3 separate regions of the Homo sapiens genome follow, and all the other regions are linked to region 3. The links are contacts of gene promoters, found by promoter capture Hi-C in blood cells and fetal thymus (Javierre and others, 2016). All regions are on one chromosome and are shown on one strand. The core of a region is centred on a gene start or on the middle of the fragment in contact, and the rest is flanking DNA. Distances in the headings are between cores, read along the strand shown. Region 1 overlaps SRRM1 (serine and arginine repetitive matrix 1). Region 2 has its middle 2.8 kb from the start of HNRNPR. Region 3 holds the start of PNRC2 (proline rich nuclear receptor coactivator 2).

Region 1 (4,457 bases), core at 302-2,801, 690 kb before region 3:
TGAAGATCCTAGCTGAGTCATATACTACCTAAGGTGTCTCGGCAGCCTGGCCAATACTCTCAAATCGACATTACAGAAAAGAAAAGGTTATTACCTGTCTTTGTTTTATTTCTTCTTTCTTCAGTTCTAGGAAAGCAGAAGGGATTCCCGCGATGTTTTCTTGTGCACTTAGCAGCAGGGGCCACAGTTCTCCCATAAATTCTCGAGCATTTTTTCCATTCAAAAATCCAGTCAGGTTGATTTGCATCATTTTGGAGTCTGGATTCTGCAAAAAGACACGACAGGAAGAAAAACAGGTTACTTCAAAACCAACCAACCAACAAATCAACCAACCTAAAACTCATTTAAATTAGTATTTTTTAAGTCTACCATAGGGGCTTAGACATATATATAGTCCTTACTATTTTACAAATAGTCTTCCCTAGTAGCTTCTCAGCAATATAATCTCTAACAGATTACCAAATTCTCTCTCACTCTACCAAAAGCATCAGAGCAGCCTGTTAATCCTTTGTGGATTTCGTAAGTATTTTTAGACTCTGTGGCTGTTAGTGGGCCTTACATTTATTAACTTTAAAAACCATCATGAAACATCCACAAATTCTAGTATTTACTAACAAGAAAAGTATTTGCTTGCCTGGAAATTTTCCCCCAATGAGAAACGGAAAAAGTACATAAACTGCTCCCTAACACTACAGATAGCTTTGCATAAAATATCTATTGTCCAGTTATGAAAACTAACAAGTTATGCATGCAGTCTGTAACTTCTGAGGGCTAAGCTAAAGGCCTGAGTTTTATATAAGGAAAATCTATTATAACAATGCCTCAAATTCTCAACTGTCCACAAAGTGCTAAGAGGTCAAGATTTCTCAAAAATAATTGGGTTTTTAAATGCTAAATCCGTTGGTCAAGCAACAAGGTCTGTATAACAAGCACAGCTCAATAGCACAAAGCAAGTACAGATTCCAGGTGTCTTCAGTTTCTTCTTGGAACCTTGGGGGTTTGGAATCGCCAAGTCCCCTGTAGAGAAAGATGTTCCCTTGGCTTGCTTCCGACTCCCTACTGCAACTCAACCACCTTGAGTTTAATGTTATATCATTTATCTAAATTGCAAAAGACGAACAAGCAATAATGAGTACACAACCACAAAAAAAGAATTGTCTTAAAAAGTTCTAAACTTTAATCTCATGCTCACTACAAGGGGAATACTACCAGATACTTAGGTTTTTAAAATGCACTAAAATACACATCAGTAAAGCATTTCTCCAATAAAATCTATCTTCAATCATCATTTAAAAAACTTTCTCCCCTGTTCCTGGTTTTCTAAGATGCATATACTTTATAGAAAGTGCATTCTTAAAATTAGTCTTTAAAAATATTCAAAACAAAATACAAACACCAAATTATTTTAAAACTAGAAATACCTTATCAGTTGAAATGCCAACTGTTCTGTCAAAACATAGGGTGAACTCTTTGGGGGAAATGATTAATGTAAAAGTAAATTCACATTGGTATATATGCAAAAAGGTCATATGGTACATATCTTAACTGTCCTTTGGGTTGCTGTGGCAAAACAGAAACTGTCTTACAATAAGAATGTTCTTAAACATCAGTTATATCATCATATTATCTCATGTATAAAGGAACAATTATATGCTGCCAATTTGTCTGAAGTTTAAGTATAAACAAAAATCCTGTCTCTAAAATGTAACTGATGACTAGCTGACATGCAGCTACAAAGACCTTAGTTCCTTTAAAAACAATATCCAATCAAATCAGAATTGCCCCTCATGCTTCACATAAATGTCCATCTCATAATAGTATTTTAAAAGAGCAGTGTACAGCTTTACCCAATTGCTCTTTCCTGTTTGTGTTTTTTGTTGTTGTTGTTGATGTTTGGCCACTTTACACAACTCACCTCCAAACACACACTGCATCATCAAGGGAGTTGGGTCAGAGCGACATTGGGACACTCACTCTGCTGTGACCTAATAAGGTGATGGTGCTATACTTCAGACGCAAGGAATAACTTCCATTTTGGTTCAGGCCTTTTAAATCATAAATCACATTATCATTAGAAAATTGCTGTCAAAGTAACTTAACATGTAACAGCAAAATTACAAACAATAAGTTTGATTTTTCACCTGTGTAGCTTTCAAAACTATGCACCTTCACTAAACTTCCAGCCTTAATAGTTGTTTACAAAGTGAATTCTTTTCACAACAAACATTGTAAAATAACCCTTCTATATTTGCACTCCATAGAAAAAATTCAGTTTCCAAAGATTCACAAATTATATCACATATTCAGAAACAAGAGCCATTTGTATATTAGTACCTTCACTTCCAGCTGGTTGAATATAAACTCAATCACAACATCATCTTCAAACCCAAGGATTTCCGTTACTCTTTTTGTTATCCAAGGCTTTATAACCTCCAAATTTACTTTGCTCATGTCCACCTGATGAAACATAGAAACAATTAAGTACAACTTCACAATCCTAAAAAAAAATGCTCAAGTTAGAGTTCTGTCTACCAAAGTTCCTTTTAGCTTAGTTTTTTTGTTTGGCATAGTAGAATCTGCTAATTTTTTTTTTTTTTTTTTGAGACAGAGTCTTGCACTCTTGCCCAGGCTGGAGTGCAGTGGTGCTCAGCTCACTGCAAGCTCCGCCTCCCAGGTTCGTGCCATTCTCCTGCCTCAGCCTCCCAATTAGCTGGGATTACAGGCACCCGCCACCACGCCCGGCTAATTTTTTGTATTTTTAGTAGAGACAGGGTTTCACCGTGTTAGCCAGGATGGTCTCAATCTCCTGACATTGTGATTTGCCCGCCTCGGCCTCCCAAAGTGCTGGGATTACAGGCGTGAGCCACCTCGCCCAGCCACAATCTGCTAATTCTTATATGGCTGTGCCACGTGTGGTGGCTAAAAGGTGGTTAATGTTCAATTATGTTTTTCTTAGCATTCAAGTTACAATGCATCTCCAAAACAACCCCAGAACTTGAGTCAAGTAAGTGTGCTATAAAGATGCACAACAGTCTCATCCAGAAGAATACCTTTTTTTCTAGGCATTCTGCAAATTTCAGCTGCTTCAGTAGTTTCTTCTGTTTGTTGCTGAACCGATTATCCTGTTCTGCACTTGTTCCCTGCAGGAAGAGAACCACATCTTAACTAAGGGTTCAAAGTTAAATCCTTACTTTTTATCACCTACGACCTTTATAGCCAAAATAGGGTAACCAAGTAAACACAATACCAAACTAGTTTTCATAGATGAGAAATGCATACTCCTTCCCCAATGTAGCTGATACTTGGAAAACTTGACTGGATTTTTAAATTATCAAGTATATGTTCATCATAAGTCAAACCTAAAACAACAGTATACAGCATAAAGCCAACACCTCCTCATATCCAATGTTAGATTTGATTTGTATCCTTTCACACCTTTTCCTATGCTAATAGATACGTAGGGCTTTTCTGTTTAAATGAGAACACATTGAAGTATTTGAAATTTCATTCTTTTTTGAAAGCCAGTTGCATGCTTGCAAAACTACTGTGGCAATGCATACAAACAGGGTGAAAGGAAAAAAGAACATCCCAGGACTGTGCTGTTAGTCTTCTACAACTTTTAGGAACTTGGAATGAGTGAAGAAGACAGGGTTACCTAAATAAACTCAATTTCAGCAAAGAACCTGGAAAAATGAAAGCTTACAAATACTACCTTAGATCATCGAGTGATCACTAATTATTCTTTTCATTTTGTCATTCCTACTGGCCCAATTAAACACGGAAATAACTGGCTGTGCCATCTGAAATGTACTGATTGGTTCACTGAGTTGGCCACAGTCCCCTGGAAAGCGATCAAAAAAAATTTTGTTTGAGAAGGTAAAAACTGTGCCACTACTTAGCCGTAAGATCGTAAACCAAGTTACCCAGCCTCTCTGAGGATAGTTCCTTCCCTGCTAAAATAGAGGTATAGAAACCTACTCTGCAGGGTTGCTGTGTACATACCAGAAATAACATATGTAAAGTATCTGGCATGTGGAAGAAGTTCATTGAATGGAAGATATAACTTCTATACTACCTGAAATAGTTCATCTGGTTGGCAGGGTACTAGATAATGACCCTAAAATATTTTAACTTGGATCTTAAATCCAGTTAACTCTTGTATTTAAGCAATTGTAGGCTGTGTACTAAAAACTCGCCCCTCTCCCAGACCTTTACCAATACCACAAGCAAACTTCATGTTAAAATTTGCTCATCAATCACCTTACTCTTTTATTTATTTGGACTCCTTTCCACAGAAAATATTTTGACAAAAGTCAGAAAAGGCTTTCACTTGTTTCAAAATACTACTTGCACTGCAGAAAATATTGAATATTTACTACAAAACACTTTGATGGAAATTACAAAATGGACAGTTCATAAGCAGTTTGCAAATTCGATACGCTAATCTGAAACTATCA
Region 2 (4,345 bases), core at 1,610-4,109, 610 kb after region 3:
CAGTCTCAAGTGATCCTCCTACCTCAGCCTCCTGGGTAGCTGGTACTACAGGCATGTGCCACCACAGCCGGCTAATTTTTGCAACTTTTGTTGAGACGGGGTTTCAGCATGTTGCCTGGGCTGGTCTTGAACACCTGAACACAAACAATCCTCCCGCCTCAGCCTCCCAAAGTGGTGGGATTACAGGCATGAGCCACCGTGCCTGGCTTTTTTTTTTTTTTTTTTTTGAGATGGAGTCTTGCTCTGTCGCCAGGCTGGAATGCAGTGGCGTGATCTTGGCTCACTGCAACCTCTGCCTCCTGGGTTCAAGCGATTCTACTGCCTCAGCCTCCTAAGTAGCTGGGACTACAGACGTGCGCCACCATGCCCAGCTAATTTTTGTATTTTCAGTAGAGATGGGGTTTCACCATACTGGCTAGAATTGTCTAGATCTCTTGACCACATGATCCACCTGCCTCGGCCTCCCAAAGTGCTGGAATTACAGGCATGAGCCACTGTGCCTGGCTTTCTCTACTCTTAACTCCATGATTTTTCTTTCTTTCTTTTTTTTTTTTGAGTTGGAGTTTCACTCTTGTTGCCCAGGCTGGAGTGCAATGGCGCGATCTCAGCTCACCACAACCTCTGACTCCCGGGTTCAAGTGATTCTCCTGCCTCAGCCTCCTGAGTAGCTGGGATTACAGGCATGCGCCACCATGCCCAGCTAATTTTTGTATTTGTAGTAGAGACCGGGTTTCTCCATGTTGGTCAGGCTGGTCTTGAACTTCCGACCTCAGGTGATCTGCCTGCCTTGGCCTCCCAAAGTGTTGGGACCACAGGCATGAGCCACCATGCTGGCCAACTCCATGATTTTTATATAGAGGCATGCAATACATATTTGTGGAATATTGAATTCATGAATATCTGTATCTATACAATAATTTTCTTTCCAAGTAAAAAAATCAAGACATATGGTCTGAAATGTGGAGTATACCTTTGATGACTACATAGCAGAACATTTGAAATATTATCCCAGAAAATACTGGGTGATAGAATCGTTTTAAATTACATATCTAGGCCAGGTGCGGTGGCTCACACCTGTAATCCCAACACTTTGGGAGGCCGAGGTGGGCGGATCATTTGAGGTCAGGAGTTTGAGACCAGCCTGGACAACATGGTGAAACCCTGCCTCTACTAAAAATACAAAAATTAGCCAGATGTCATGCATGGCAGGCATCTGTAATCCCAGCTACTTGGGAGGCTGAGGCAGGAGAATCGCTTGAATCCGGGAGGTGGAAGTTGCATTGAGCTGAGATTGCACCACTGCACTCCAGTATGGGCCACAGAGTGAGACTGTCTCAAAAAAAAAAAAATTACATATCTGACCCACGGGTTCTCATCAATGGACTTGAAGGAGTCTCTGAATGCAAGTAAGGAGTACTTAAACTTGGATGGGGAAAAAAATTACATCTTTGTTTTCTCTAACATCTAACTGAAATTTAGCATTTTTCCCCATTGTGAATGTAGACAACATATCACAGTAGAATTAGTAACAGCTTTCCCTCTGTCACCAATAGAAATCATTTTCATATCACTTTACTACTCATGGATTTCTTGAAATATCACTCTACAATTTCTGTAGTTATTAGATCTGCTCTAAGATCTTAATAGTTATTGTGTTAATAAAGAAAAAGTTCCTGCCTGGGTAACATGGTGAAACCCCGTCTCTGAAAAAAAGAAAAAAAAAAAAAACACAAAAAAACAAAAACAACAATTAGCCCAGAGCGGTGGCCAGCGCTTGTAGTTCCTACAAGCCACTGGGGAAGCTGAGGTCAGAGGATCGCTTGAGCCCTGGAGGCAGAGGTTGCCGTGAGCCCAGATTGCACCATTGCACTCCAGCCTGGGTGATAAAGTGAGCACATGTTTAAAAAAAAAAAAAAAAATTAAAAAGTAAAAGCTGGGCTGGGTGCGGTGGCTCACGCCTGTAATCCCAGCACTTTGGGAGGCTGAGGCGGACGAATCACGAGGTCAGGAGATCGAGACCATCCTGGCTAACACGGTTAAACCCCGTCTCTACTAAAAATACAAAAAATTAGCTGGGCGTGGTGGCTGGCGCCTGTAGTCCCAGCTACTCGGGAGGCTGAGGCAGAAGAATGGCGTGAACCCGGGAGGCGGAGCTTGCAGTGAGCCGAGATTGCGCCACTGCACTCCAGCCTGGGCGACACAGCGAGACTCTGTCTCAAAAAAAAATAAAAAAATAAGCTGGGCGCGGTGGCTCATGCCTGTAATCCCAGCACTTTGGGAGGCCGAGGCGGGCGGATCATGAGGTCAGGAGATCAAGACCATCCTGGCTAACACGGTGAAAACCCCGTCTCAACTAAAAAAAAAAAAAAAAAAAAATTAGCTGGGCATGATGGCAGGCTATATAGTCCCAGCTACTCGAGAGGCTGAGGCGGGAGAATGGCATGAACCCGGGAGGCGGAGCTTGCAGTGAGCCGAGTTCGCGCCACTGCACTCCAGCCTGGGCGACAGAGCGAGACTCCATCTCAAAAAAAAAAAAATAAAAATAAAATAAATAAAAAATAAAAAAGTAAAACCTTACTATATCACGAATGTGTTTTAAAATATATTTCCTAATTGTATTTCAATATAAATGGTTTCTTTCGTATTGCTCTGTATTTTGTTTCATGCATTTAAAAACTGAGAAGAGATTCATAGCTTTTACCAGACTTCCAAATGGCACAAAATAGGTTAAGAATTATGGCGCTAGAGGCAGATTTATGTGAAGCTAGTAAAATTTAAGCTTCAGGCTGGGCGCCTGTAATCTCAGCACTTTGGGAGGCCGAAGCAGAAGGATCATTTGAGGCCAGGAATTCAAGACCGGCCAAGACCGGCCTGGGCAACATAGCGAGATTCCCTCCGCACCTCCCGTGTCTCTATTAAAAAAAAAAAGTTAAGCTTCGGGGTCCTCCCTCACTTTTACAATGCCCTTCCAAGACTCTGTTCCTAAATTTGTATTCGTCATTTAATATGATTTTTCTTAAAGACTCCCAACATTTCTTTCTTTCCTTCTTCCTTTCTTTTCCTTTTCTTTCCTTTTCTTCTCTCTCTCTGTCTTTCTCTCTTTCTTTCTAGAAGGAGTTTCACTCTTGTCGCCCAGGTTGGAGTGCAATGGCGCAATCCCGGCTACTGCAACCTCCGCCTCCCGGGTTCAAGCGATACTCCTGCCTCAGCCTCTCAAGTAGCTGGAATTACATGCACGCGCCACCACGCTCGGCTAATTTGTGTATTTTTAGTAGAGACGGGGTTTCACTATGTTGGCCAGGCTGGTCTCGAACTCCTGTGCTCAAGTGATCGTCCACTTCGGCCTCCCTAAGTGCTGGAATTACAGGCGTGAGCCACCGCGCCCGGCCTAAGACTCCCAGCATTTCTGTAAATCTCACACCCCATAACACAAAACTTGGATCTACCCAGAGATTTAACTTGGTACTGGGCACATAGTAGTCGTTTTCAATATTTCTTTTTCTTTTTTTTTTTTTTTAAGACGGAGTTTCGCTGTTGTTCCCTAGGGTGGAGTGCAGTGGTGCGATATTGGCTCACTGCAACCTCCGCCTCCCGGGTTCAAGCGATTTTTCTGCCTCAGCCTCCGGAGTAGGTGGGTTTACAGGCACGTGCCACCACACCGGGCTAATTTTTGTATTTTTAGTAGAGGCAGGGTTTCACCATGTTGATCAGGCTGGTCTCGAACTTCTGACCGATACACCCGCCTCGGCCTCCCAAAGTGCTGGGATTACAGGCATGAGCTACCACGCCCCGCCCGTTTTCAATAATTAAATATAGGTTTGTAGGTTCTGAGAAATTTAATCATCCTTGAGTGCATCTGGAAATCTGCAGACCACTGCTTGACTTCCTCCACTTCCTAAGGGTGGGGCATTGGAGTTTGGGGTTGGGAAAAAAGCGCTTGCACCACAGAAGTGAGTTCGGAAGGTTTCTATGAGACGAGACAGGTTTGGACTAAGGACAGGGAACAAATCAGTAGGAATGGCAGGTGAGAAATAGGTTTAGGACTAACACGAATTATAGTGTCCTTTGGGAATTACCCCTTTCCCCTGCATGGCTCTTTTGGCTTCAGAGATGTATATAGCTGCTTTATTTTATGAATATCAAGTAGCTCCAAACCCTGTGGGGAAAAGCTCCCTGCTCTATCACTTGTGTTACACATTGCTTTTGAGTCATTTTAACGATTTCCCTCACAGTCTGCCACCAACGATGTGTGGACGGCAGCCAGGGAGGGAAAGAGGCATTTCTCCGATCGTTCCAAGGAATGATTATCTAGACAAAATCCTCAGCAAAATGACGAGCCAAATCA
Region 3 (4,625 bases), core at 1,756-4,255:
ACACTGGCACTTTAGCACAAGGGCAAACTTTAAAAACAAGTTATTTTGGACCTTTAAAATTAGGCCATATTATAAAAAACAGTCCACGGTCTTACATTCAGCAAATTCATACTAAAATACTCCATTTTTGTAAGATAAAGGCCAAGAAAACTTTACATATGCTACAAGTTTATTACAGATATTTACATGGCTCTTTCTCCCCTAGGTACTTAAAATTTTCACATTATCCAACTCCCCAAAGCAAGCTTTGCAGGAATGATGAGGCCAGAGCACTATTAGAATAGCTTGTGCAGTGCTGTAATACAAAAATGTATTTTGAAAGCTATTGAGTGACCATTAAATACTGTTTCTATAAAAAATGGTTTTGGTGTATTTGTTGACAGACACTTAATCCACTACATTTAATAAACAGGGCCATTGGGGTGTACTATGTCTCATTCTAATGAGCTCCAAATGCCCTTTCCACCCACTGTACAATTCACTAAAATGCAATTATTACGAAAAATTCACATTTTCTTTCAGCAGTGCATCAGGTTAGCATATTACTGGTTTGGGTGTTTCTAATATACTAAACCTTCAGATGTTTACCTAATTCTGAATCCTTGTGTTAGCTAGAAGCTTATAATCCGATTCACCAACTTTCAACAATCTACTGGTCCATGAATGATAAATTACTGTCTTCCCCTAACAATAGAAAAAGCTGATTCCTTTACCACTCCCCAAATCTAAACTTGGTTTCCACTTAAAAGTTACTCAGTTGAGAACACTTAATATCAAGTACAATCATTAGTTTAAGTTGCACTGATACTACCATTATATCACAGTGCACACAACACGAGATGGTCTATTTTTTTTACATTAATTAGTTCTACACAAATAGATTCCCTAGCGAATTTGTTTCAGACCAATTGACAACTATCCGTGAACATAACTAAATTTAAACATTTGTCTTATTTTATACCTGTACTTTAAGTAAGGTTTTAAGTTGAAATGTCATTATTTCCTTATCTGAAGGATTAAAGGAAACAGGGACCCAGTGGCTTGGTGGTTTGGGAAGAACACTTGGTGATGGCGGCTCACTAAATTTGGCACCAGCATAGTTCTGATTAGCTTGAGATTTAAAAAGTAACCTGGGACCTGATAAGCTAGAATTCCAACTTTGATTATTTGGAAAATTTTTGTTCTTCCCCCCATTTTGCATGGCCTGCCAGGCAGCTGCTGATGAGTTATAACCATGTCCTCTTTCTTTTTTCTTATGAACAATCTTCATCTGGGAATTCTGTTCCTTGGTCTTCTGTCTGTTAAGCTGTTGTTGGTTCTTACTAACATTTCTAGATTGAGGGGCTGGAATGTTATACCTCTCTCCACCACCCATCTTCAGCTTCTTTGTCACCTACAAGTGAATGGAAACAAATATTGAGTAAAATTCCATTAAGAAAAGTTCAAAATCTTTAAGAAGCTTCTATGGCTCCAACTTATAACTCCAGATATTTTGGACAAGACTCAATAACAGGCTATTCAGCTGCTTTAAACTCAAAAAAGCAAGCCGTTCAGACTTCAATATATGCACAACCTTTATTGTTATACCTTCCCTAAGAAAAATGAGCTTACCCACAAATCTACATAATCTATTTTAAAATAAAAACAATTGGTTTAGGATGGTTCCATCATAAAATGTTTGCCCATTATGATGATTACCTTTCAGTCTGCTTTTCAGATTGCAGGATCTCCACTACCTGTCCTCTTCCTTGCTGCCAAGCCCAAGATAACAAGTGTTGCTTTCTGACAGATCCCTTCCTTTGTCTCAATACAGAAGTTTTCATGGGCCGATCTGCTGAGTTCAGCCTAGGAGCTGAGGCCAACATCTGAGTCTCCTCAGCACACAAGTTTGAGAGAAGTCCTAGCTAGAAAAGTAAAGATTACTTCATTATTTCAAAAACACGTTGAGAAAGTGATCATTTAGATTTACTACGAAAATCGTTGACTGTAAAGAAGGCTACTTCCTGAACTAAAAGGTAGAAAATTTCTCGTAAGATGGCTTTCTTTGACCTTATAACCACGACCATTTAAAAAAACTCTTCACCCTTGAGATCCAGTCACTCCTGGGGAATTTTTGTAAGTGTCTCCAAGTCCCGCAATAAGTTTTATCTTTATCTTTTTCCTGGGAAAGACCTTCAGATTCTCTCGCGTATAAAATCAAGGAAGTGTTAAATGTTGAGTCATATCAAAAAATTGGCTTCAGGCGGATTTTCTAAAGAGACCGTGTTTTTAAACTCCCACCAGAATTTTCCAATCTTTCCACACATGTCACATCCATTTTCAGTCTCTTGGAACATGTAGACATCACGCAGTGTTTCCTTTGGTTATGAACGCTCTCGCCTCCTCCCCGTCTTAAAATAAGTTCTCACAAGCCCTAACAGTCTAAGCCCATCTTAAATATATAAAAATGTCTCCCTAGAGGGAACAGCTTAACTTTCAAGGTTTGGTTTTAATTTGATGTTCCAAGAAAATAAGTTACCAAATAGTTAAGCCCCCTCCTTTCAAAGGGGTAAGAGAGCTTTCCAAACAGATAAACAACCCTAAATAAATTGCCATTTCCGGACTGTGAGTAATTCCCAACTCGAACCCGGAAAACGCCTCCTCCGACGCCACAAGGGCTTGGCTTCCCAGTGGCCCCATCTCTCCGGAGCCGCAGGGGTCGCGGCGCTGCGACCGCCCGTGACCGCCCGCGCCCGCCCGGGTTACCCGGATCTCGCCTCCGCTCGCCTCCTTCCTCCAACAATGGGGAGCGCGGCCACCAACATGGCCGCGCCCTTAGCGCAGCCGCTACTTACTGACTTCAAGCTCGGAACTAACGCGGCAGCGGCTCCCTCTCGACGTCGAAGCCTCCCTCCCTTTCCAGGGAGAGACGAGGCACGGACCGACAAAGCCCACGAACACCGATGAGCGAGCTGCCGGCCACCCCAGCTTCTACAACCCGACCTTCTCCTTCTGCCTCTACCGACAAAATGGAGTCGGCAGCGACTGCAGAAGCAGGGCCGGGAGGCTCCGCGGCCAATCAAAACACGACAGCGCGGGCCTGGCCAATGAGAAGCGGGCCGCCGCCTGTTGCTGGGGCTGGCCGGGGGCGAAGGCGCGGAGGTGGGGCTGCAGAGGGTTTGAAATCTGCCCGGGGAGGAGGAGCATGCCGGGAGTAACTGCTCGGTCCACCGGTGTCTTAGTCCTTTCTCCGGCGGCCTCTCCGCGCCCCTGGCCCGCCGAGGCCCCGGCCGCTAGCTCTCGGCTCTTCCTACCGCTCGGCTCTCGTGCGCGCGGGCTCGCCGCCCTTGGGACTGCCCTGGGGGAAAAGACTGACCGGCGGGGGACGTTTGGTTCTCGAATTAGGGCCACTGAGTCCTGTAGCCTGTATTGACAGATGGAAGATACTCCGGAAAGCCTCTTGCCAGGGCGCAGCCCCCTCCCGCCTCGGGCCTCGGCTTCTGGGTCGCCTCTCTCCCACACCCACAACTCCGCGTCCGAAGCCGGCGCCTCCCCGCGGTTCCCTCCAGTGCCCCCACCCTCCAGCCCCGCAATTACTCAAAAGTTGCCTCCCTGTGAAGGCGGTTCAGACACACGCGGGCAAGTCAGTCACTTCCTGCTTGGTGGCCCCATTGGTCCTTAAGTTCAATTAGAGCCCTTTACGCGCCGTGTTACCGTTTCCTGTGGCTGCAGCTCTCCCCACCCACACACCCTCGAGGGCCACAACCGGTTAGGTTTTGTTTCTCTGAGCACAGCGCCTTCGCGCGTTGTAAGTGCACAGTAAGTTTGCTGAAAGAATGAGGACTGCTCTCCTCCCCTTTCTGCCCCACTTGTAAGTGAAAAAGGGGAAGAAAGAGAATATTGTTCAGTTGATTATGCCAGCCAGATGCAGGTAAGGGGAAAATGGCAATTTCTTTGGAGTAAATGTATAAGTAACCCAATGTGAATCTTTTAAAAGAGCACTAATTTCAATGAGCGTGAATAATTCTGGGCCAAACGGTACAAAATCAGTCTCATTCACAGTTTGTTCGTGTATACACATATATACCCAAGTTTACGTTACAGAATTTATATTTACCAACTTTTTATAAATCTCATGTAATTCGTTATTTTTGAGACGGAGTCTCCTTCTGTCGCCCAGGCTGGAGTGCAGTGGCACAATCTCGGCTCACTGCAACCTCCGCCTCCTGGGCTCAAGCGATTCTCCTGCCTCAGCCTCCTGAGTAGTTGGGATTACAGGCGCCTGCCACCACACCCTCCTAATTTTTGTATTTTTAGTAGAGACAGGATTTCATCATGTTGGCCAGGCTGGTCTCAAACTCCTAACCTCACGTGATCCGCCCGTCTCAGCCACTCAAAGTGCTGGGATTACAGGCGTGAGCCACCACACCCGGCCTGTATTTCGTTTTTTAATCTTCAATTTTTTGCCACCGTTATCCCCCACTTCCCAATCCAACCCAAATTCCTATATTCTAGCCATTGGATCTTAAGAAAAGTTACTGCATCTTACGGGATGCAGTTTGTTAATCTAATTTGATAAAAGAGGTATTTTTGAGCATAGGGACTTTCTGATGCTAATCATATTCAAATAAGAAGTATGTGGTAAA

Evidence for each region. Contacts are between HindIII fragments. The CHiCAGO score rates a contact against its expected background, and 5 or more counts as called.
Region 1: a contact is called between a fragment that was not itself captured here and the fragment with the promoter of PNRC2 in region 3, in 1 of 17 cell types (fetal thymus). The highest score is 5.9, in fetal thymus.
Region 2: a fragment that was not itself captured here is called in contact with the fragment with the promoter of PNRC2 in region 3 in 1 of 17 cell types (neutrophils); the score reaches 5.4 in neutrophils.

The regions. Positions count from the first base shown.
Region 1 is chr1:24,644,667-24,649,123 of GRCh38, reverse strand. It overlaps SRRM1 (serine and arginine repetitive matrix 1), which reads right to left. Exons shown (of 17, transcript NM_005839.4): 2 at 3,051-3,140; 3 at 2,335-2,457; 4 at 95-265. Among named protein-coding and RNA genes, the nearest start is that of SRRM1, 3.6 kb to the right of the region's middle. The HindIII fragment of the contact is 4,299 bases long and covers 1-3,700 here.
Region 2 is chr1:23,344,880-23,349,224 of GRCh38, reverse strand. No RefSeq gene overlaps it. Among named protein-coding and RNA genes, the nearest start is that of HNRNPR, 2.8 kb to the right of the region's middle. The HindIII fragment of the contact is 155 bases long and covers 2,782-2,936 here.
Region 3 is chr1:23,958,208-23,962,832 of GRCh38, reverse strand. PNRC2 (proline rich nuclear receptor coactivator 2) reads right to left here and starts at 3,005. Exons shown (of 3, transcript NM_017761.4): 1 at 2,835-3,005; 2 at 1,699-1,904; 3 at 1-1,393. The coding sequence starts at 1,375. The coding sequence ends at 956. RefSeq lists enhancers at 2,739-3,008, 3,909-3,968, 4,147-4,625 and silencers at 3,209-3,318, 3,729-3,828. The HindIII fragment of the contact is 4,127 bases long and covers 1,462-4,625 here.